3 separate regions of the Homo sapiens genome follow, and regions 1 and 3 are each linked to region 2. Evidence: promoter capture Hi-C in 16 types of primary human blood cells and fetal thymus (Javierre and others, 2016). All regions are on one chromosome and are shown on one strand. The core of a region is centred on a gene start or on the middle of the fragment in contact, and the rest is flanking DNA. Distances in the headings are between cores, read along the strand shown. Region 1 has its middle 91 kb from the start of KIF4B. Region 2 holds the start of HAVCR1 (hepatitis A virus cellular receptor 1). Region 3 has its middle 120 kb from the start of KIF4B.

Region 1 (3,367 bases), core at 590-3,089, 2.0 Mb after region 2:
AGTGCCTAGAGCAGTGCCTGACATGAGGTATTTCATAAAACCAATCGCTCTATGAAAAAGCAATGTTCGGCTTCCTCCTCATACTGTCATCCAGCCCACATTGCTACCTCTAATCCCCCAAATTAGAAAAAAAGATACATGAAACCTATTTAAACAACATTTCTCTTGCTATTGACTTTTGCAAAGAATCAATAATCAGGTGAACGATATCTGATACCAACACACACACTCATGCATGCTCGCCTACACAAAATGACACCAATTATTTATTCTGATAAAGGGAAAAGGAGTTTGTGCACTCAAGTCAAAAGGGCTAGTTGAAGGAGCATTAGAAAAGAAAATTAAGTTGCTGCACATGTGCTGAGTCATGAAGCTATTGTGGGAAGACCTCCGAATCTTCAAGTAAGGGCTGGAAGGTAAGAAAATATTGAGTAATCCCAGCACTTCGGGAGGCTGAGGTGGAGGTCAGGAGATCGAGACCAGCCTGGCCAACATGGTGAAACCCTGTCTCTACTAAAAATTACAAAAATTAGCCAGGCATGGTGGTGCACACCTGTAATCTCAGCTACTCTGGAGGCTGAGGCAGGTGAATTACTTGAACCTGAGAGGCGGAGGTTGCAATGAGTGGAGATCATGCCACTGCACTCCAGCCTGGGCAACAGAGAGAGACTCTGTCTCAAAAAAAAGAAAAGAAAAGAAAAGAAATATTGAACAGGCAAGGTACAAAAAAAGTGTTATGGTGTTTATGTGATGTCATTGGTCTCTAATTTTCTTAAGAGCTCAGTTGGACTCCAAGGAATAAGTAAAAAATTAGAGAATTCTTTTAAAACTTGTGACAATACCAACCCGAGAGAGGTTACATTAAGATGGCAGAGCATGGAAGATTCTTTACATCCATGATGACAATCTAAATCATCTCTTTTTCCCAATTCAAATAAGACCCTGTCTTTATACCACTTTGTACAAATCTATGGACGAATCCAACAATTAAACTGGATTGTTGTCCAACCCTCTAAGGGAGGATCACCAAGGTAGTATGAGAGAAGAGAAGTTAAATGACTTTAAAACTTACAAAGATTTTTACTTTTGGCAACTTCTAAGACATTAGCCCCCGTCTTCAGACTCCAAGTCTGATATTGTCTAGCCAGCACCCTGCTCTGGGAGGGACAGTAAGCACATAGCCTGCATGTTCTAAGTCCCTGACGTCTATGGCAGGTACCCCAAGTGACATTATTATCACCCTGGCCAGGACGCAGCCCTCAAAACCTTATTCACATCATATTCTAAGTAGCCACCATTAATGGATCAGAACTTGCATCCAAAATGAACCTTCTTTGTCTTTGCTGATTTGGAGCAGGAGCCCTTCTTCAGCATGAAGCTGATTTTCTCCCTTCCTCCCCCAGAGCACATTTGACTCAACCTTCATGATCTATCAACCAAAGATTCTGAGCTGAATCAAAGTCCCCTTTCCATGCATATCTTGAACATAAAGGTTTTCCCTGAATCAAGTCCAATGTTAATCCATTTAATGCCTTCCTTTTTATACTGCTTTTAACTTTTTCAAAAGCATTTGAAATTACATTACTATTTCATTCTCAGAAAATCCCTGTGAGCTAGGTTAAGCAAGTAGTATTATCTCCAAGAGAACTAAGGCCCAGAGAATTGAAATCAATCACAGAAAATCATGCAGTGAGTTAAAGGGAAAATGGGGTTGAACATCCAGGGAGCCTAGCGGCCATTCCGCACTCTTCACATGATGTTACCCTGCCTTAAATTTATCTAGATCTCCTGGGGGGGTTGAGGGGAGCTGCTTCCTCCTCTCAGGTTACTCTTTTCCACTTGCGCTTGAACTCTACACACACACAAACACACACACAACACACACACATGTGCCTGCACACATATGCAAACAGGGATACACATGTGCATATAGAGAAACCTGCACACAGAAAGATACTTGCATAGAAAGGAATATACTCACATGCCAAAACACACAGAGAGACAGGCTTACACATGCCCAGAGACAGGAAACAGAGATATAGAGGGATACATTCAGAAAGACACACACAGGTTACTTCATATTGCATGCCTGTATCAAAACATCTCATGTACCCCACAAGTATATACACACCTACTATATACCTGCAAAAGAGCTCAACTGGGCTCTAGAGAATAAGTAAAAAATTAGATAATTCACAAAAACTAAAAATAAAAATAAATTTTATAAGACACACAGACGGCCGGCCGCGGTGGCTCATGCCTATAATCCCAGCACTTTGGAAGGCCGAGGTGGGTGGATCACCTGAGGTCAGGAGTTTGAGACCAGCCTGATCAACATGGTGAAACTCCTTCTCTACTAAAAAATACGAAAATTAGCCAGGCATGATGGCGGGCGCCTGTAATCCCAGCTACTCGGGATGCTGAGGCGGAAGAATCGCTTGAACCCAGGAGGTGGATGTTGCAGTGAGCCAAGATCACGCCATTGCACTCCAGCCTGGGCGACAGAGCTAGACTCCATCTCAAAAAAAAAAAAAGACACACAGGCACAAAGAGATGCACACACAGACACATACACAGAGACACACACACAGACATATACACACACAGCAATCACATAGAGATATACAAACACAGACACGTGTAGAAACACATACAGAAATACAACAGAGGAAGATACAGAGACACACTCAGAAAGACACACACACACAGACAGGAAGACTTATAAACAGACTTTCTAACAACTTTGATTTCATCCGCCCACTATGGAACATCCCATTTTTTCTGTGGGACGCTTCCAATATGAGTCATGGAAAACATCCCTGACTTTGTTCCACAAAGAACAGGCCTCCTTGTGTGAGCTCAGTGATAAGGCAATGTTAGATGGGAGATTATGGCTCTCAGCAGAACTGGCATATGGCGATCTGTACAGCACTCATCCACTTATTAATCAATCATTCATAACCTAGTTTGTGCTGAGATATTCTCAGAGGCTGTTATGCTTATTATGAGGAATCAGGAATGCATTGTAGCTGTCACATTGGGTTCTGATGACCCCATCTGGGGGCCGAATCCCTATTGTAACTGTCACATTTGCTTTAAGAACACGCTACTTGTGCATCCCCTGATTTCCCAGGAACAGGAGCATTTGCTCTTGGTACTAAAAATTGCAATAGATCTCTATGAAGAGGCAAGGGGAGAAAAGGAACAAATATAAGAGTGAGAAAGTACAAGCATGAAAAAGAATTCAAACTGTGGTCTTATCGAGGACCCTAGTCTATGGACATAATGAAAGCCATCTTTAACTTCTTTCTTAAACCCCTCCTAATTAGGCCAGACTCTCCTTATAGAAAGTTTATGCAGACACTGT
Region 2 (3,614 bases), core at 977-3,476:
TTTGTTTTTAATTAATTTATTTTTTTGAAAGCTCTGTCATCTAAGGCTTGAGTGCAGTGGTGCCATCTCAACTCCCCGAAGACTGTCTCCTGGGCTCAAGCAATCTGAAATTTTAATTAAAATGAAATTAAATAAAAATTTTTAGGCCAGGCATGGCGGCTCACACCTGTAATTCCAGCACTTTTGGAAGTTGAGATGAGCGTATCACTTGAGGCCAGGAGTTCCAGCCCAGCCTGGCCAACATGGTGAAACTCCACCTCTGCTAAAAATACAAAAATTAGCCAGGCATGGTGGCGCGTGTCTGTAGTCCCAGCTACTCAGGAGACTGTGGCAAGAGAATCACTTAAACCCAGGAGATGGAGGTTGCACTGAGCTGAGATTGTGACACTGCACTCCAGCCTGGGTGACAGAGTCAGGCTCTGTCTTGGAAAAAAAAAAAATTAAAAATGCCTTGGTTGCCTTAGCCACATTTCAAGTGCTCAATAGTCATATGTGGCTAGTGGCTGCTGTAGTGCACGACACTCACACAGAATAACTCTGTAACCAATATTCTACTGGAGACAGAATCGATCCTATGGAATTCAAATTCAAATCCTATGGAATTGTACAGTTATGTAACATCTCAGAGCACTGGCTCCACATCCCTGTCTTGGCTCTCTGTGGCTCATCAGTTCCAGAATAACTCCGTTACCAGAATAACTCCATTACTAAAATTCTACCGGGCAGCACTCTATAGGAGGGAATAGAGACAGACACCACATATATTGCACACACAGATAAAATGGATTAAGGAAAACAAGATAATAATAGTGAGAGGGACTGGTTGGCTACTTTAGATTGAAGGACCTGTGAAAAATGTCCAGGGAGGTCATATTTAAGCCGGGATAAAAATGAAAAGGAAAAAAGTGAAAATGGTGGGGCTGGGGAGCTAGATGGAGAACACAGCCACGGAAAAGGCCTTAGGGTTGAGGCAAGTTGGAAAGAAAGCTCTAGTAGCTGGGGCTGAGTCAGCAGGGGAGAGAGTGGTAGAAGAAATCTATGGGGTAGGTCAGGGCCAGACCACCAGGGCTTCAGTAATTTGAGTAAAGATTTAGGAATTATTATTATTATTATTATTATTATTTTTCTGAGAGAGTTATGAGAGGGTTATAAGTGGGGGAATGATGTAGTCTGATTATATATTTACCTTTACCTCACTTATCCTGATTTCATTAGTTGCTTACTTACCCATGTCCCTGCCCGATTGCACAAGTCTGGATTTTTGACGTCCCTAGTATATTGAGTCATGTCCCATCAGCTCAATATGTTAGTAATAACTGGTTGAATTGAATTAGCTTTTTTTTTTCAATCTTTTTTTCCTTAAGAAACAGGGTCTTGCTCTGTCACCCCGGCTGGTGTGCAGTGGCACAATCATAGCCTCCAACTGCTGGGCTCAAGCAACCCTCCTGCCTCAGCCTCCTGAGTAGCTGGGACTACGGTCAGGTACACAAGGCCTGACTATATTTTTTGTTCGTTTTTTTTGCAGAGAGGGAGTCTTGCTATGTTGCCCAGGTTGGTCTCAAACTCCTTACCTCAGGTGATCCACTTGCCTTGGCCTCCCAAAGTGTTGGGATTACAGGCGTGAGCCACTGTGCCTGGCAAGAAATGAATTTTTATTTTTATTTTTGAGATGGAGTTTTGTTCTTGTTGTCCAGGCTAGAGTGCAATGGCTTGATCTCGGCTCACTGCAACCTCCACCTTCCAGGTTCAAGCAATTCTTCTACCTCAGCCTCCTAAGTAGCTGGGATTACAGGCGCCCGCCACCACCCCCAGCTAATTTTTGTATTTTTAGTAGAGTCGGGGTTTCACCGTGTTAGCCAGGCTGGTCTTGAACTCCCGACCTCAGGTGACTGGCCTACTCGGCCTCCCAAAGTGCTGGGGTTACAGGCACGAGCCACCATGCCCGGTCAAGAAATGAATTTTTAAACGCTGCCATACAAAACACTATGCTGAGATCATCCACTTCCCCATGAACCCTGTCATGAGCTGCAAGATACAGACCACCACTGCCTCCTTGGAAGTTACTGAATTCTTAGACCAGAAGAGGAGTTAATGAAGTACTAGGCAAGCTTACTCATGTTTGTATGGTTTAATGATTAACAGCAGAAGTCAACAGCCCGATTTAACGCATGTGGGTGCTTGACACAGAGCCTGCTATATAGTATTCTCCAAAAACCTCAGCTAGTGCTATTACTGCATATGATGTAGGTTTAGTTTTCCAAGTTCTTCCGTGGCCCTTTTTGCTTATTATATCAATCCTTGGTGGGAGATAGAGGAAGCATTTTTAGTGCTATTTTACAACTGAGGAAATAGAGGTTTGAAGAGAACTCAGGAACTCTCAGGGTTACCCAGCATTGTGAGTGACAGAGCCTGGATCTGAACGTAAGTCTGCTCCAGACTTCTGTTTCCTGAAGCATTCTCTTGAAGTCCCTTGGTAAGGAGGTGTAGTCTGAAGCATGTTGTACAGGAGCATGAAAGGTTAGGCACAGTGATTCACATTCACTCTCAATTTCTCTTGCTAATGGCAAACTTGGCAATATGACTGTTAAGGCTAGGGATAAGTCGTTGTGGCCACTGAGTAGGAAAAGCTCCACGTCCACCAGAGGCCCAGTTTACTCTGAAAAGCAAGTGCATCTCTGCCACTGGAAGGCTGGCATTTGCTCTCGTGCTGCCATTGAGCCACGCTGGTTCTCTGCTTCCAGTTTCCTTTTCTTTTCTTTTTTTTTGTTTTGTTTTTTGAGACGGAGTCTTGCTCTGTCGCCCAGGCTGGAGTGCAGTGGCGCGATCTCGGCTCACCGCAAGCTCCGCCTCCCGCGGGTTCACGCCATTCTCCTGCCTCAGCCTCCCGAGTAGCTGGGACTACAGGCGCCAGTGACCACGCCCGGCTAATTTTTTGTATTTTTAGTAGAGACGGGGTTTCACCCTTTTAGCCAGGATGGTCTCGATCTCCTGACTTCGTGATCTGCCCGCCTTGGCCTCCCAAAGTGCTAGGATTACAGGTTTGAGCCACCGCGCCCGGCCCTGTTTCCTTTTTGTTTGTTCCCCTGATACCCTGTATCAGGACCAGGAGTCAGTTTGGCGGTTATGTGTGGGGAAGAAGCTGGGAAGTCAGGGGCTGTTTCTGTGGACAGCTTTCCCTGTCCTTTGGAAGGCACAGAGCTCTCAGCTGCAGGGAACTAACAGAGCTCTGAAGCCGTTATATGTGGTCTTCTCTCATTTCCAGCAGAGCAGGCTCATATGAATCAACCAACTGGGTGAAAAGATAAGTTGCAATCTGAGATTTAAGACTTGATCAGATACCATCTGGTGGAGGGTACCAACCAGCCTGTCTGCTCATTTTCCTTCAGGCTGATCCCATAATGCATCCTCAAGTGGTCATCTTAAGCCTCATCCTACATCTGGCAGGTAAGTGAGTAGGTGCCCTGGGCGGGAAGAAGGGAGTAGAGGGGGGTTAGAAGCCAGAGAATGGGGTAGGGGAAGGGGAGGGGATGGTGGTGGTGGATTAATGTAGATGTTCTTTGGGTACCGTTGTATGGCTATGAGTTAACTAGTGAGCAGGACCAGAATAAAGTTTT
Region 3 (3,512 bases), core at 210-2,709, 1.9 Mb after region 2:
CATCCCACTGAGAGCCACCTCCACCACCCAATAAAACCCCTCATTCATCATCAAGTCCATGTGTCACCTGATTCTTCCAAGACACTGGACAAGAGCTCGGGATACAGAAAGCTGTCATACTGGCCCTCTGCCTTTGCAAGAAAGGGTTCCTGCACCTGTCCATCTGCGTGCTCCCCCTCCCATAAGGGGTTTGAGCAGCGGCAGCAACCAAACAGACAAGCCACACCACTGTTGCATGTCCTGCGAGGGGACTCAGAGGACTCTCCTGTTTCAGAAATACAAGGGAGAGATTTTCCCTGACTAAGAAGATCTAGGAAAATGTTGTAGAGGTGGGGCCTTTTCCATAAGGTTGAGAAGGATGGAAAAACAAAATAGGTCACATATGGGGAGAAAATCCTCCAGGGAGACACAAAAGAAACAGCTAAGGAAGAATGGCAGAAGATTAGGTGACCTGTTCAGGGTGGGCAGCCCAGCATGATGAATGATGACTATAGGGCAGGGAAAAGCCAAACAGTTATTTGGCTCAATTTGTTGAAGGTCTTAAAAGCTCAGGTTCTTAGGCAAAGGAGAGACATGGCCAGAGTTTTGTTTAAGGTGGCAGCAAGGAGAATGGAATTGAAGAGAAAGAGCTTAGAGCCAGGGTCACTGGTTGGGAGAATCACTGCCAGGGTGTTTCAAAAGTCCCTTCCCGAAAAGATTTTGTTTATGCTGTTGGCATTGTGAAAGTACAATTGCATATAAACATGTGTGGTATTACCTTGAAATATGTTTGAAGGCACCTATGACTACATATCTCTTCTGTACATCTAATTTATTTTAAGCTAAGTGTGGTATATAAAATGCTTGATGGCAAAATTGAACTCAAGTATTTCTGGTTTCTTCTGGGGTAAAGAAAGGCTTGTGTGAGAAGCTAGGAACCAAATAAGTCTGAGTCTGTAAAGTTGAAGGTAGAATTGAGGTCAAAATGCAAACAGCATCAAAAACTTCAGCTATAGCTTAAGTAGGCATAAGGTCATGGTGAGTGTGTGTTGAAACTTCCAGGAGGTTCTGCAGCTTAAACTTTCTCCATATGGTTGGGTTATGAATACTTCACTCTTCTCTGAACCAAGAGTTTTTAAAATATTGCTGCTTGGCTTTGATCAACTGAAAGTATATACTCTTCCAACTTGACAAAGCCCATATAAAATTACAGAAAAATTCAGGAATCAAAGTTTAGCTGCATCCAGCCTAAAACCCATAACTTGTACCAACAAACCACAGTTTAATCCATGGCCAACTTTCTGTCTACCTGAATGATGGTTTGAGACGTTCAGTGATGTTAAAACAGGCTGGCAAGGATTCTTCACTTCCAGATCCAAAGATTGTTTACAGGTAGTTGAGCCATAGCCATTGAAAATGATCAACCTTATTTCAAAAATAACCTTGTTGTTTTATCACCCAATAAACTGTCCACTTGTGGGAATAAGTGTTTGAGAACTTTATTGTCCACACAAGAGATCATGAGACAGAAATAAGATAGAGGTGAGAAAATGGGGGTGTGCATAGGAAAGGGAAGGTATTTCAGGGATAGGAATTACAATGTGTGATGACTAAGTATGGAGATTAAGAACCAGAGGGAACAAAGATGAAATATTCACTCAGTCAACAGTTATGTACTGCATACTCACTATATGATCAACATTGTGCTGGGTGTGAAGGTTACAGCTGTGATGTACATATTGCTCACTATCTGGTAGACATCACAGATAAGGAGAAAATTACCACAAAGTAGAGGAAACAGATGATGCTGTGGAAACAGCAACACCAAATTCTAACCTAGTCAAGAGGCATCGAAAAAGATTTCCAAGAGGAATCAATATTAAAGTTGAGACCTAACAGGCACCATATAAAAATTAGCCATGTGAATGGGAGATCACAAGGCAGGGGAGATGAGTCAAGGCGTGTGCCCTGAGTCAGACTTTGCAGATTCAAATCTTGGCACTGGCGCTGCCATTAGCTGGTTGTGTGACCTTGGGTAAGTTACTAATTCTCTTTGTGTCTCATTGTCATTATATATTAAGTAGGGATAATAATTCCTTCCTCATAGGGCTATGATAAAAGCCAAATTAAATAAACAAAGAGTTCTTGGCACAGAGACTGGCGCAGGGTATGTGCCAAATAAATGGCAGCACTCTCTTTGTTATTAAGAAGGAACAGCATCTGCAAAGGCTAAAAGGTAAGAAAGAACATGGCAGTTTCAAGGAAAGTAGTTCAGTGTTGCCAGAGTGTTGGGGAAACAGCAAATTATGAGCCTGGAGAGGAGGAGCAAAGGCAAAGTCAAGGAGGCTCTTTTAATATGATTTCTACGGTAATACAGTGCATAGTGATGTCACTAGAGAAGGCACGGACTTGGAGAGAAATCCAGAGCATTTTCGGGATGACTTCACAACCACCTTATGACCACTTTTGAGGTGCATGCACTTCCAGGAGGGAAAAACAGTGTGGTTGTGATTCAGCTAAGAGCTACAAATGATGACAAGAAACCAGGGGCTCAGGAGTGGTAGGAAACAAGAAGGAAGCTGAGTCCTTGGACAAAAGCTCTTGGAGCAGGAATGGGCCCCTTAGAATGGCACAGCAGAGGGGAAGGGCACCTCTGCCCTTTATCTGGACTCGACTGCTGACCCTGCCAGTTACTTACATGTGACCAAACCACTCTCTTTCTCTGTATCTTAATAAACAGGGAGGCAGCCTAGATCCGTCATTCTTAACCCAGAAACCACAGATACTATGAATCCATGAAGATGCTAACAGAGGTTCAATCTATTCTCAATTACTTTTTTTAAACCCCAAGGCCATACTAGTTCTTTCAAGCTGATCCAAAGCTCCTGTAGGCATTGCACATCTTTAATTAATTTATAACTGAGTGAATAAATTAATTATACCATTAAATTCAGTTACTACTCTTAGAAATTGAAAAATAAAGAAGAAAAAGGGTGCTAGTAGTAAAAGATTTGACACCACTAGACTGAATGTTTGATAAGGCCATTCCGGCTCTCATATTCTGGAAGCCTACCTTCACCTGTCAGCTATTTCATTGTCTATAAAGGTTTACATTCTTGGGGTTAAAAACATGGGACTCAGAGTCACAAAAGCCTGGGTTCAAATCCCAGCTCTGCACTTGCTAGCTGGATGACCGTGGCAAATTACTTAACCTCTATAAATCTCAATTTCTTAATACACAGAATAGAGATTAAAATAGCATTTTTTGACAGAGTTGTTGCAAGGAATGAGATAATGCAAACTTCAGTCATTGGCATACTCCTTCCCAATCTTTGCCAAATCTGCATAAAACCTGAAATATTAGTTAGATAATATTTTTTATTTAAATCAATTCATGTTTTCAGTTAAATTTATGTGCTTTAATCGGAAGCTTTATACTGCTACCATAAATGGAAAACAAGTACTACCGTAAATTGGTAGTAACCATAAGAATAATACTAATAAAAACTGTACTGAAATTTTTATCTCAATAA

Evidence for each region. The method cuts DNA at HindIII sites, captures the fragments that hold promoters and counts their contacts. A CHiCAGO score of 5 or more calls a contact.
Region 1: a fragment that was not itself captured here is called in contact with the fragment with the promoter of HAVCR1 in region 2 in 1 of 17 cell types (naive B cells); the score reaches 5.3 in naive B cells.
Region 3: a contact is called between a fragment that was not itself captured here and the fragment with the promoter of HAVCR1 in region 2, in 2 of 17 cell types (M2 macrophages and M0 macrophages). The highest score is 8.4, in M2 macrophages.

Annotation. Positions count from the first base shown.
Region 1 is chr5:155,102,871-155,106,237 of GRCh38, reverse strand. No RefSeq gene overlaps it. Among named protein-coding and RNA genes, the nearest start is that of KIF4B, 91 kb to the right of the region's middle. The HindIII fragment of the contact is 4,206 bases long and covers 1-3,367 here.
Region 2 is chr5:157,057,728-157,061,341 of GRCh38, reverse strand. HAVCR1 (hepatitis A virus cellular receptor 1) reads left to right here and starts at 2,226. Exons shown (of 9, transcript NM_001173393.3): 1 at 2,226-2,421; 2 at 3,387-3,444. The coding sequence starts at 3,399. The HindIII fragment of the contact is 9,361 bases long and covers 2,111-3,614 here.
Region 3 is chr5:155,127,830-155,131,341 of GRCh38, reverse strand. No RefSeq gene overlaps it. Among named protein-coding and RNA genes, the nearest start is that of KIF4B, 120 kb to the right of the region's middle. The HindIII fragment of the contact is 3,905 bases long and covers 1-3,411 here.